Regions from separate parts of the Homo sapiens genome. Here region 1 is linked to region 2. Evidence: promoter capture Hi-C in 16 types of primary human blood cells and fetal thymus (Javierre and others, 2016). All regions are on one chromosome and are shown on one strand. Each heading gives the region's core, a stretch centred on a gene start or on the middle of the fragment in contact. The rest is flanking DNA. Distances are from core to core; before and after follow the strand shown. Region 1 holds the start of RPL5 (ribosomal protein L5). Region 2 holds the start of ALG14 (ALG14 UDP-N-acetylglucosaminyltransferase subunit).

Region 1 (6,026 bases), core at 1,567-4,066, 2.2 Mb before region 2:
TTTGAAGAGTACAGGCCAGTTACTTTGTAGAATTATCTAAATCTGGATTTACGTGTAGTTTCATCATGATTAGATTTGGTTGGTACATATTAGATAACTATTTTAGATTAGATTATGTAAATTTGGTAGGAAGTGTTTTGTGTTCTTCTCAGTGCATCAGGAGGCATATAATGTTAATTTATTTTTTCTTTGCTTTCCTTTTTCTTTTTCCCTAGAGATAGAGGTCTTCTTATGTGCCCAGGCTGGTCTCGAACTCCTGGGCTGAAGTGATCCTCCTGGCTCAGCCTCCCAAAATGTTGGGATTACAGGTGTGAACCTATAATGTTAATTCATCCCACTATTGGTGGTTTTTTAACTTTTACCACTTGAATAAGATGCTGTTGGCTGAGGATGCTGGACAATTACCCCCTAGCTCCTGGTGTCACCAACTGCACTGGCTGAACCAGCCATGCTAGCCACAGACCCCTGACTGTGACCAAGGGGAATAGGTATACATATTTTTAATTTTCTTGTTATGGATTTATAAGGTAAGAAGGAGAGGGATAAGGATGATAAAGTATATTTAATTTAACATGTTGTTTGTTTCATAACTTCTTTTTTTGGATTTTATTTTTTATAGAGACAGGGGCTCACCAAGTCTCCCAGGCTGGTCCCGAACTCCTGGGTTTAAGTGATCCTCCTGCCTTGGCCTCCCAAAATGCTGGGATTACAGGCCTGAGCCAGCACATCCAGCCTGCTTCATGACTTCTTTCTTTTTTTTTTTTTTTGAGACGGAGTCTCACTGTCGCCAGGCTGGAGTGCAGTGGTGTGATCTCGGCTCACTGCAACCTCTGCCTCCTGGGTTCAAGCGATTCTCCTGTCTCAGTCTCCCGAGTAGCTGGGACTACAGGTGCGTGCCACCATGCCCGGCTGGTTTTTGTATTTTTAGCAGAGATGGGGTTTCACCATGTTGTCCAGGATGGTCTCGATCTCTTGACCTCGCGATCCGCCTGCCTCGGCCTCCCAAAGCGCTGGGATTACAGGCGTGACCCACCGCACCTGGCCTGAGCTACCGTGCCCGGCCCACAACTTCTAAATATTCAGATGAATAGTATGTGGGTCTTCCTATGAACCCTTGCCCTAAAACATGCAGAAGTTAGGAGTCGGCCTGTTTCCAGGCAGACTTTCCTTCCTGATGCTTTTGCCTCCAGTGTAAGCAGGGCCTGACCAAGACATGGAGCACCTTTGGTAGGCTAATAACTTGATAATCCACCAAAATGAAGGTTTTTAAATATTTTCTATAAATACGAATTGAATACCTCTTTCTTTACCCTTTCAAAGGTGGCTCCACAAAAGTAGAATCACACTTCCTGTGAAAAGTGTTTTAAGTTTTCTCCTCTAGAGCTCTGTTGACATCGGCCATAGCGAACTCTGTTTATTTTTCCTATTATATAAGGAATTACAAGTTGGAATCAGAAGTAATTGGCATCCTAATCCTGATTTATTCTAGTGGCAGTGTTTTGGAGTCACTTAACCCTGTCATCCTGGTTGGCCGTCCCTTCTCCCAGCTCTAACGGTGAGCAGCTGATACCCTGCTAGGTGCTGGAGAGTCAGAGGTGGACATCAGGGCCCACCTCGAAAAGTTGACAGTCTGTGGTGGGCTGAAGCCAGTAGAAAGCTGCTGTAGGAAGGCAGAGGAGTGGCCCCTATCCCAGGCTTGGGGCTCTCAGGGAAGGCTTCCTGGGGGTGAGATGGGAGGGTGGGTCCATATGCTCTTGGACCAGAATGAGTAGCCCAGAGAAGGCAAGAGGGCTCCCAAGCAAACTTGTCCTATTTAATTTTTTTTTTTTTTCCTGCTTAGAAAAGCAAAATGCGTTATGAACAAAACAAAACAAAACAAAACAAAACAAAACAAAACAAAACAAAACAAAACGCTGTAGCAAAGAAAGCGAAAGGCTCCAGTAATCCTCCCTGCTCCTCCTCACCGCACGGATCCTGTGAGATACCCCGAGCATTGGAACCTGGAGAGCTTGGGCAGGCATTCACCCTCCTTCCAGCAGGGGGCGGAACGTAAAACGCCTTGTGGCCGACGCCCTCTCTCTTTCACACGTCACTGGCGTGACCGTCCGCGCTACATACTGCGCCTGCGCAAGGGCTGTGGCCCTTTTCCCACCCCCTAGCGCCGCTGGGCCTGCAGGTCTCTGTCGAGCAGCGGACGCCGGTCTCTGTTCCGCAGGATGGTGAGTGGATGCCTCGGTCTCGGGGCTTTAGATGCATGGAGGTTCCCTTTTCTTGCCCGTATGCCAGCCTAGGGCCCGTCTCGCGCGTCGCAGGGGCCGGATGGCGTTAGATTGCTAGCTCTGACTTGGTCGAGGTGCAGTTCCCAGCGTGGCCTTAAATGGCTGCCGCCCGGTGCGCGAACTTGGGGGGAGGGGTTGGCGAAGAAGGGTTGCGTGAGCTTGGACGGCGGATTGGGGAGAAGGGTGAGTTTAGTAGACAGCCTGAGTGCGGATACTGCCGTCTAGTGTGAGGGGGCGCTGGCAAGCGGCCGGGCGTGAGAGGTCGCAAGCAGTCGACCTCAGCCTAGCTGGGGAACGCCAGAATGGAGGGGGGCTGCAGGTCCTCGGGTCCCACTCGACCTCCGAGTACCGAGTACTTCGTGGGTTTTCCAGGAGAATGTCGGAGCCGGCAAGTCTTAGATTTAGGAAGCTTGTGCCCGTGGGCTGAGCAAGTGGCTTTTAAGCCAAAATTGTCAGTGGAGCTTGGAGGCCGAGGGGTCCCTGGGCCCCGGAAGCTCCTTTAACATGGAATACGTGCCTCCTGCCTCTTCCTCTAGAGTCCGTCGCCGGATGAGTTTTTAATTATTGGGGTAGGGCCCCAAGGGTGGGATGAAATGTTGCTTTAGCTGATGGGGAACAGTGCTGTTTTAGTGGGGGAATTACTGCTGAATGTGCTCTTGCCCAGTTAAGCTTTGTGGCAGGTAATTTAGGCTTTTGAAAAACATAACATGGGAAGCGAGAGAGGTACGTAGTTGTTATTTGAGGCTAGGTTTTCGAAGTGGGACATAGCGTGTTCCGAACAAACCGACGTTTGGCATCACTGATTGCTGTCTGGAGCAGTGCTTCGCAAAAGTTTGGCACAATTACCGGTGCTGGTCCTTGAAGAAACAAATATGGAAATTGAAAGCGTTTAAAACCTTTTGAAAGCAATATAACAATAATTTTATACCTGTTAAATGTAATAAATTGGGGCCTGCATTTTGTATGTTTCTTTTATTCCATATTTCTCTAAGGATTCATTTTTATTGTTTTATGAAACTACTAGTCTGTGACATGGAAGGTAGAGGAAAAAGATTCTTGACCCTAGTTGCTTGTGAAACCTGGGATTCTACAAGTGACAGTTGTCTGTTTACTCTTGAAGTTCAAGTGTTACTTTGTTACATGGTTAATTTATGTCAAAAGTATCATAGGCTAAGACATCAAAGTTTTAATAACATTCTTTTTTCTTTAAGGGGTTTGTTAAAGTTGTTAAGAATAAGGCCTACTTTAAGAGATACCAAGTGAAATTTAGAAGACGACGAGGTACTGTCACCTTTTTGTGTTTACAATATTAATCTGCTTTGCAGATGCAGTGGAGTATCCTTTCTACAATTATTTTTTTCTTTCAGAGGGTAAAACTGATTATTATGCTCGGAAACGCTTGGTGATACAAGATAAAAATAAATACAACACACCCAAATACAGGATGATAGTTCGTGTGACAAACAGAGATATCATTTGTCAGGTAAGTTGTATTCTAGACAGTCCCCTTTTTTTATTGCTAGAGAAATTGTGCTTGGGAAGCAAAGCACATGGTGTGTGTGTTAGAAGGGCTGTCTAGCACCTCCAAAAGCATCCAGTGAATAATTTTTCCTTTTAGTAGGTCTAGAATTGGAACCTGGGAACTTGGTACTTTAAAAAATGCTCTTGGTTGCGCTCATGCCTGTAATCCCAGCACTTCGGGAAGATTGCTTGAGCCCAGGAGTTTGAGACCAGCCTGGGCAATATAGTGAGAGTTTGTCTTCACAAAAAATGTAAGAAAATTAGCTGGGCATGGCGGGGCGCACCTGTAGTCCCAGCTACTCAGTGGGAGGATTGTTTGAGCCCCGAGGTTGAGGCTGCAGTGAAGTGAGATCACACCCAGCCCTCCAACCTAGGTGACAGAGCAAGACACTGAAACCTAGTTTATGTGTGTGGGGTGGGGAGATTAGAAGTAAGTAAGAAGTTCTTGCCCATCCCAATTCCAGTAGAAGAATAGGGTTTGTCCTGATTTTTCCTATATGGCCTTATATGCCACTTAACCACTGAAAAGGTAGTTGTGAATTAAACAGGGCTTTAAGATTGTTCTGCTTATTCTTTGAAATAGGTTTTAATAAAATGTACAAAGGTGGCTCCCGCATGAAAGACCTTTAGGAAGTGTCAGTTTTGCTCTTGTACTAAGAGCATTCTCACTGGACTCTGAAAGCTAGAATCCTGGGCTTTTACAACTAGGAGAAATTCTGAGAGTTAAGATTTATTGATATTTTGCAGCAGGTAGGCACACCTGTTTCCTGGGCAAATAGTTTGTTGATTGTGAAGGCATTGTCTTCCTCCGTACCCAAGTTCAGATAACTAAACGTTAGGTTCCTGAGACTTTGCTGACTTTAGTTATGTTTAGTTCAAAAGATGATTGAAATATTTGGGTATTCCTCTTTGACTTTTTAAGCACCTCTAATTTACTGGTAACCCAGCTAAGAGTCTTAAGCATTTTAAGTGATGTTCATCTGTGTCCATCAATGTTTTTTTATTCCCTTGAAAAATAATTAAGATGTAGTAAGACAGTGAAAGCAACAGATTACTAACCTAGTTTCTCTCTTACTATAGATTGCTTATGCCCGTATAGAGGGGGATATGATAGTCTGCGCAGCGTATGCACACGAACTGCCAAAATATGGTGTGAAGGTTGGCCTGACAAATTATGCTGCAGCATATTGTACTGGCCTGCTGCTGGCCCGCAGGGTATGTACAAGATGATTTTAATTGATGTAGTTTGTGGCTGATTGCTTGGAGAGTTTTCTGCAAGATGTTTGTACATGGATAAGATAGCTTAAGTTGTGCTTCAGGAGAGTGCTTGCTTCCAGTTTTCTGCTTTGTTAATGGATCTATCTAGGTCAGCTCTTTCCAATAAAATTTTCTGCAATGACACAAATCTGTAATTTGCTGTCCAGTGGTTTTGCCACTAGCGACCTGCAGCTGTTGAGTTCCAGCAGTATGTAAACTTGAATTTGAAAATCCACTTGTAGCTAGTGTCTACTTAATTGGACAATGAAGACCCTTGCTACTTAGGTATACATTCTGAATGTTGGCAAACATTAAAAATGCAGACTCGTGGGAACTCCACTCTAGACCTTCTGGAATCTGTATTTTGATAGTATGTACCAAGTGATTTATATGCACATTAAAACTGGAGAATCTTGGCTAGGCGCGGTGGCTCACACTTATAATCCCAGCACTTTGGGAGGCCGAGGAGGGTGGATCACTTGAGGTCAGGAGTTTGAGACTAGCCTGGCCAGCATGGTGAAGCCCTGTCTCTACTAAAAAAGTAGAAAAAAAAAAAAAGCCAGGCATGATGGTGTGTGTCTGTAGTCCCAACTACTTGGGAGGCTGAGGCAGGAGAATCACTTGAACCCAGAAGGCAGAGGTTGCAGTGAGCTGAGATCACGCCATTGCACTCCAGCCTGGGCAACAAGAGCGAAACTGTGTCTCAAAAAAAAAAAAAAAAAAATGAGAATCTTAGTGTTTTGGAGAGTGGCCATTGACGGGAAGATTCATTTTTGTTTTAAACATTTTTCCTGGTAGATGAAGATGGGATTTTGCCTTGTTTTTATTATCTGAGTTTTTTACCTTGTTTTGCAATGGAATTGTTAAGCATGTGCAGCAAGGTTGATGACAACCCACTCATTGGTTATAAACATGTTTTAATGGAGGGAACATTGTAAGTATAAGAATCAAGTTTATGCATTCTCATTG
Region 2 (5,534 bases), core at 1,858-4,357:
TAAAACCTAAAAATACTACTCTAATTTTACTCCACCTTTCTGTGTAAAAACTGGCCATAAAGAAATTATCCGAGCTGGGGAGCTGGGCGAGGTGGCTCACACCTTTAATCCCAGCGCTTTGGAAGGCAGGAGAATTGCTTGAGGCCAGGAGTTCAAGACCAGTCTGGCACACATAGCAAGACACCATCTCTATTTTTAAAATTAATTAATTAAATTAAAAAAATTATCTGATCTACCTTGTTTGACGGTAGGTCATAAGACCCCCATTCCAGAGAGGGCCCTACCCCACATCCAGAAGGAAAGGAATGCATGCTCAGAGAGACCAAGAAAAATCTAGACAGGCCTTGCTGGGCTTCCCTACTGTCTATTAGCATTAAATTATACCCTTTTGTCCAGTCATAATTCTACATGGCTGTCCATACTTTGCTGAACCTAAGCATAAAAACAGACCATTTCCCTTGTATCTCTGGGTCTTCATTCAGAACACTTTCATATATGCTTCATAAATTTGTATGCCTTTTCTCCTATTATTTCTGCCTCATCAGTGATTTTCAGTGAAACTTCAGAGGGCAAAAGGGAAGTTTCCCCTTGGCCCTTACAGTAGCCAACCAAATCTTGTATCTGTATGTTGGCCTTTGTATGGAAAATATTGTAATTTTGTTCAGCATCTCTGTTCTTGCGTATACAAACTACCTTCATTCTTCCCCACATGGGGAGCACTGATTACATTCTTTGGTATAGGTTTGCTCCCCAGACACCCAATCTCACGCTTTGTGCTTGAATAAACTCTTCTAACTGGATATTGAGCCCTTTGATTATTTTAGGTTGACACTATATGTCAAGCACTTTACTGAACACTTTATTTTTTAATTTAAGCTTTTGATTATATCATTTTATTTTATTTCATTTTGAGACAGGGTCTCACTCTGTCAACCAGGCTGGAGTGCAGTGGCACAATCTCAGCTCACTGCAACCTCCACCTCCCAGACTCAAGTGATCCTCCTACCTCAGCCTCCCAAATAGCTGGGACTATAGGTGCATGCCACCACATCCACCTAATTTATTTATTTATTTTAATGTAGAGACAGGGTTTCACTATGTTGCCCAGGCTGGTCTCCAACTCCTAAGCTCAAGCAATCCGCCTGTATCGGCCTCCCAAATTGCTGAGATTACAGGTGTGAACCATCACGCCCGGCCTAAACACTTTAAATATGATCCTATTTAATCTCTCCTGTCCTCTCTCAACCCATGTAGAAACAGAAGGTTCAGCGAGGTTAACTAATTGCCTGAGATCCCCAAGGTAGTAAGTGGCAGAAATGTGATTCATGTGTGGTGTTATGACAACCTAGAGGCCTGTGGTCTTAACCCCTACATGATATCAACAGTGGAGTAGCAGCAATTGCTTTATAAAGCAGGATTTTAGGCCAGGGGTGGCTCACGTCTGCAACCCCAGCACTTTGGGATGCTGAGGCAGGAGGATCACTTGAGGTCGGAAGTTCAAGACCAGCCTTGGTCAACATGGTGAAACACTGTCTGTACTAAAAATACAAAAATTAGCTGAGTGTGGTGGTGCGCCTGTAATCCCAGCTACTCGGGAGGCTGAGGCAGGAGAATGGCTTGAATTTGGGAGGTGGAGTTGCAGTGAGCTGAGACTGCGCCACTGCCCTCCAGCCTGGGCAACAGCGTGAGACTCTGTATAAAAAAGAAAAAAAGCAAGATTTTAAATACTCTTTACAATCTGGACTCAGTTTACCTCCCTACATTGAACTCTACACGATAGTGTTCTCTCAACTCTGGTCATTCCAAGTGTTATCACCTTCTTTTCACATCCTCCCAGCCCTCGAAACCCTGGCTGTCCCTCATCTGACTAATTCTGGGTCATCTTTCAAGTTTCAGTTTAGCATCATTTCTTCCAGGAAGCTGTCTGTTTTTTAAGACCTGATAAAGTAGTGCCCTTCCTGAAGACTGCCATAGCAATTTGTACTTCTTACACAATTATTACAAGATTATAGCATTTATCTCATTGTGGCAAATACTCATTTTGATTTATTTTCTGTTAGTTTTTTTGTATTCTCTATTTCATTTACTGCTGTATCTTTGCATCTCTCACAGGACTTAGCACGGAGTCAGCACTCCGTGGCAAGTAATGTTAGTCAGTTTTGTTATTTCCAGAGGTTAGTTTAGTGTTTGGTCTTTCTAACAGCTCAAAACAGATTAAGTGAATAAAGTAATGCGTTATACTTGAACATAAACTTAGTACATTTACTCATACTATACATGTTCTATCTGGATGCAATCTCCTGCCATACCCAAATGTTTACATTGTGTCTGTGTGTGTCTGTCTGTCCCTGTCAAATATGTGTATTTAAAATTGTAAGCACCTACAGAGTTGGTGGATTTAGATTGTATTACCTGACAGGTCAGTGTGTTGCTCACACTCTGCCACCGCGTGTGTATTGTTCTACAGCCCGTAGATCATTGTTTTTATCCTCTTGGACTTTGTATATTTATAAATGTGACAATTCATTTTGCCTCATTTGTCATGTAGCATTCGTGTTTCCTAAACTAAATACGCAATACCTAGATTAATAATGCACAACAGCCATACGGGGAAACTGCATGTTTGCATCAAAAGGCTTCTACGTTCTCTGTTCACTAATTGTTTGAAAAATATACGCTACAGAGAGTCTTAATTATAGACAAGTGTAAATTACTTGTCATAAAAAAAACCTCTGGGCCGCGTCAGCAAACCAGCCCCTACCCTGGCTGGACTGCCCGGTTCCGGCAAGGCAGAGAAACTACAAATCTCTGCATGCAACACTCCAAGAAGTGCTAAGGGTACCAGGGAAGAGCGTCGCGGTGCACTCTGGGGTTTGTAGTGACCAACCCAAGTCCGACAGTCGCCTCCTCGATACTTACCGGACCCAGCCACTACCAAGATACTGAGAGACTCCCGGGGCGTAACGTCCATGGAACGAAGCACTACCCATATTCGCAGGATTAGGAAAACCGCCACAGCTCCTGCGGCCGCAGCTAGAACGAGAACGCACACCATGCAGAGAAACGGCGCATGCGTCCAACTTCCGGGGACCAGCCGCTGTCAAAGTTCACAACTACGGGTGCCGAAGCGACTCAAACGCGGAGGACGCACGTCTTGGTGGGCTGGTCTTTCCTGAGCTGGGAGGAGTGGAGGCGACGGAGAAGCTGAGGTCCCAGTCACAATCCATTTTACCTCATTTATCATGTAGTATTCGTGTTTCCTAAACTAAATACGCAATACCTAGATTAATAATGCACAACAGCCATACAGGGAAACTGCATATTAGCGTTAAAAGGTTTCTACGTTCTGTACGTTCACGTTTGTCAGCGGAACCCCTGCTTCTGCGCGGATTGTGCGCAGCTGCAGCCAAGCGTAAGCTGAAAATTGTAAAGTTAAGCGCTGGGGAAGCTTGATTTACGCCCACGACGAGGTCAGGCAGTCTCTGCGCCCTAAAGGTCCCGAAACTCCCCAGTTAGGAGGTGTTCTGGCTCTGTCAACTTCGTGAATGCCACCTGAAGCTAAGGGAATACATCCTTTCTTTCTTTCTTTTTTTTTTTTTAATGCCAAGAGAAATGTTTCTGTTGCACACAGACATTACTGAAAGTGTTCGCCAGTAAGGACCCTAGGCTTAAACATCGAATTTAGGGCCCTCATCCAAACCCCCTGTCTCCCAACATGTATGTTTTTAACTTTTCTCGAGGTTTTCACAGCTCTCAGTGTGACCAGAGTAGTTGAGGGTGACCACCTAAAGGTAAGCCACACTCCTAAGAGGATTGCAAAGCTCAGTGGCTCTAGGTAGCAGGATAGACAAGGCACAGTCCTACAATTAATATTCAGTTAATTTTATCACAAAGCATTTCCAGTGTGTTTCTCATGTCCTCAGCCAAAATGATGATCTGCCAACACCCCCTTCAATCTCAATTTTGCTTATGTCTAATTAATTAATTGTTAATAAATTAATTATGTCTAATTAATCCACATTACGACAACATAAAATACTAAGATCAGGAGCCCCTTCACCCCAAATATAATTTGCCTTCGGTCCACCATAGACCTACCTGTAGGTTATATTGAACAGGTATACAGATGAGTAAAAAGGTTCAGAAAGGTGCAACTGCTTGCCCAAGTGGAATAGCGTCAGATCTAGAATCAGAAACCAGAAATCTGAGTCCTGCTGGACAGGAGTACTGCATCCTGTATTCCTTTGCTAAATTCAAACTTGCCTGATCACCACACTTACCTGGAGCCTAGAATGTGTTATTAAAGGTGCAGACTCCCAGGGTCCATTAGGAAACACTGAATCAGAATTTCCGGGGATCGGGCACCTGGGATTAGCTTATGTAACCAGCGTGTCCATTCCTATCAGCAAGCAAGTTTGGGAGACTTTGTGAGTAGAGTCCGTGGACCTTACAACACTTTCCAAATTGTCTTCCATCAAATCTTCTTTCTTTTCTTTTCTTTTCTTTTTTTTTTTTTTTGAGACAGAGTCTCACTCTGTCGCTTGGCTGGAGTGCAGTGGCACAATCTTGGCTCACTGCAACCCCCACCTCCCAGGTTCAAGCGATTCTCCTGCCTCAGCCTCCCAAGTAGCTGGGACTACAGGCATGCACCACCATGCCTGGCTATTTTTTTTTTTTTTTTTTTTAGTAGAGACAGAGTTTCACCATGTTGGCCAGGCTGGTCTCGAACTCCTAACCTCAGGTGATCTGCCCGCCTCTACCTCCCAAAGTGCTGGGATTACAGGCATGAGCCACTGCGCCCGGCTCCATCAAATCTTCTTAACTATACATTCTCGCAGTAAGACCTTAAAGTGGATATTAGTTCCCTTTTTACAGACAAAGAAGTAGATTCCATAAAAGTTAAATAATTTGCCTAAGTCTACTTAGCTAGTAAGGGTGGAGAAAGTTCATAGTTGTGGACTTAGAAGTCAGTGTCTCTCAAATTTTAATGGAATCAGAATTCTCTGGGCTTACAAATGCGTAGTTGGAAGTCCAGAGGTAGGGTCTTTGGTGTAGTAAGAAAAACAGCTCAAGGATAATACAAGGAGTATCATTTACTTGTATATGCCCACTCTGCCATTCCTAATAATGTCTTCAACCTGAAACAGTCTTACCTGATACTTAAGACACTAGTGGTCCCAGAATGGGATGTGTGGATGGTTACATCCAACAGGGCAATCTCCATAGCCAAAAAAGAGGTTATCTTGTCGGGTCTTTTTTGCCCCTCCCCCCCAGTCTTGCTCTGTGGCACGGTCTCGGCTCACTGCAACCTCCACCTCTGGGATTCAAGCAATTCGCCTGGCTTAGCCTCCCAAGTAACTGGGACTACAGGTATGCGCCACCACACCCAGCTAATTTTTGTATTTTTAGTAGAGACGGGGTTTCACCATGTTGGTCAGGTTGGTCTTGAACCTGACCTCATGATCCGCCCACCTCAGCCTCCCAAAGTGCTGGGATTATACGGGTGAGCCATGACGCCCGGCCTGCTTTATTTT

The links. The method cuts DNA at HindIII sites, captures the fragments that hold promoters and counts their contacts. A CHiCAGO score of 5 or more calls a contact.
Region 1: a fragment that was not itself captured here is called in contact with the fragment with the promoter of ALG14 in region 2 in 2 of 17 cell types (total B cells and total CD8 T cells); the score reaches 5.5 in total B cells.

The regions. Positions count from the first base shown.
Region 1 is chr1:92,829,899-92,835,924 of GRCh38, forward strand. It overlaps RPL5 (ribosomal protein L5), which reads left to right and starts at 2,142. Exons shown (of 8, transcript NM_000969.5): 1 at 2,142-2,219; 2 at 3,491-3,560; 3 at 3,647-3,762; 4 at 4,881-5,015. The coding sequence starts at 2,217. It also overlaps a transcript of DIPK1A not described here. RefSeq lists enhancers at 1,891-1,940, 1,944-2,582, 2,111-2,430, 2,583-3,220. The HindIII fragment of the contact is 260 bases long and covers 2,687-2,946 here.
Region 2 is chr1:95,069,844-95,075,377 of GRCh38, forward strand. It overlaps ALG14 (ALG14 UDP-N-acetylglucosaminyltransferase subunit), which reads right to left and starts at 3,108. Exons shown (of 4, transcript NM_144988.4): 1 at 2,920-3,108. The coding sequence starts at 3,055. RefSeq lists enhancers at 2,550-2,629, 2,870-3,229. The HindIII fragment of the contact is 2,572 bases long and covers 875-3,446 here.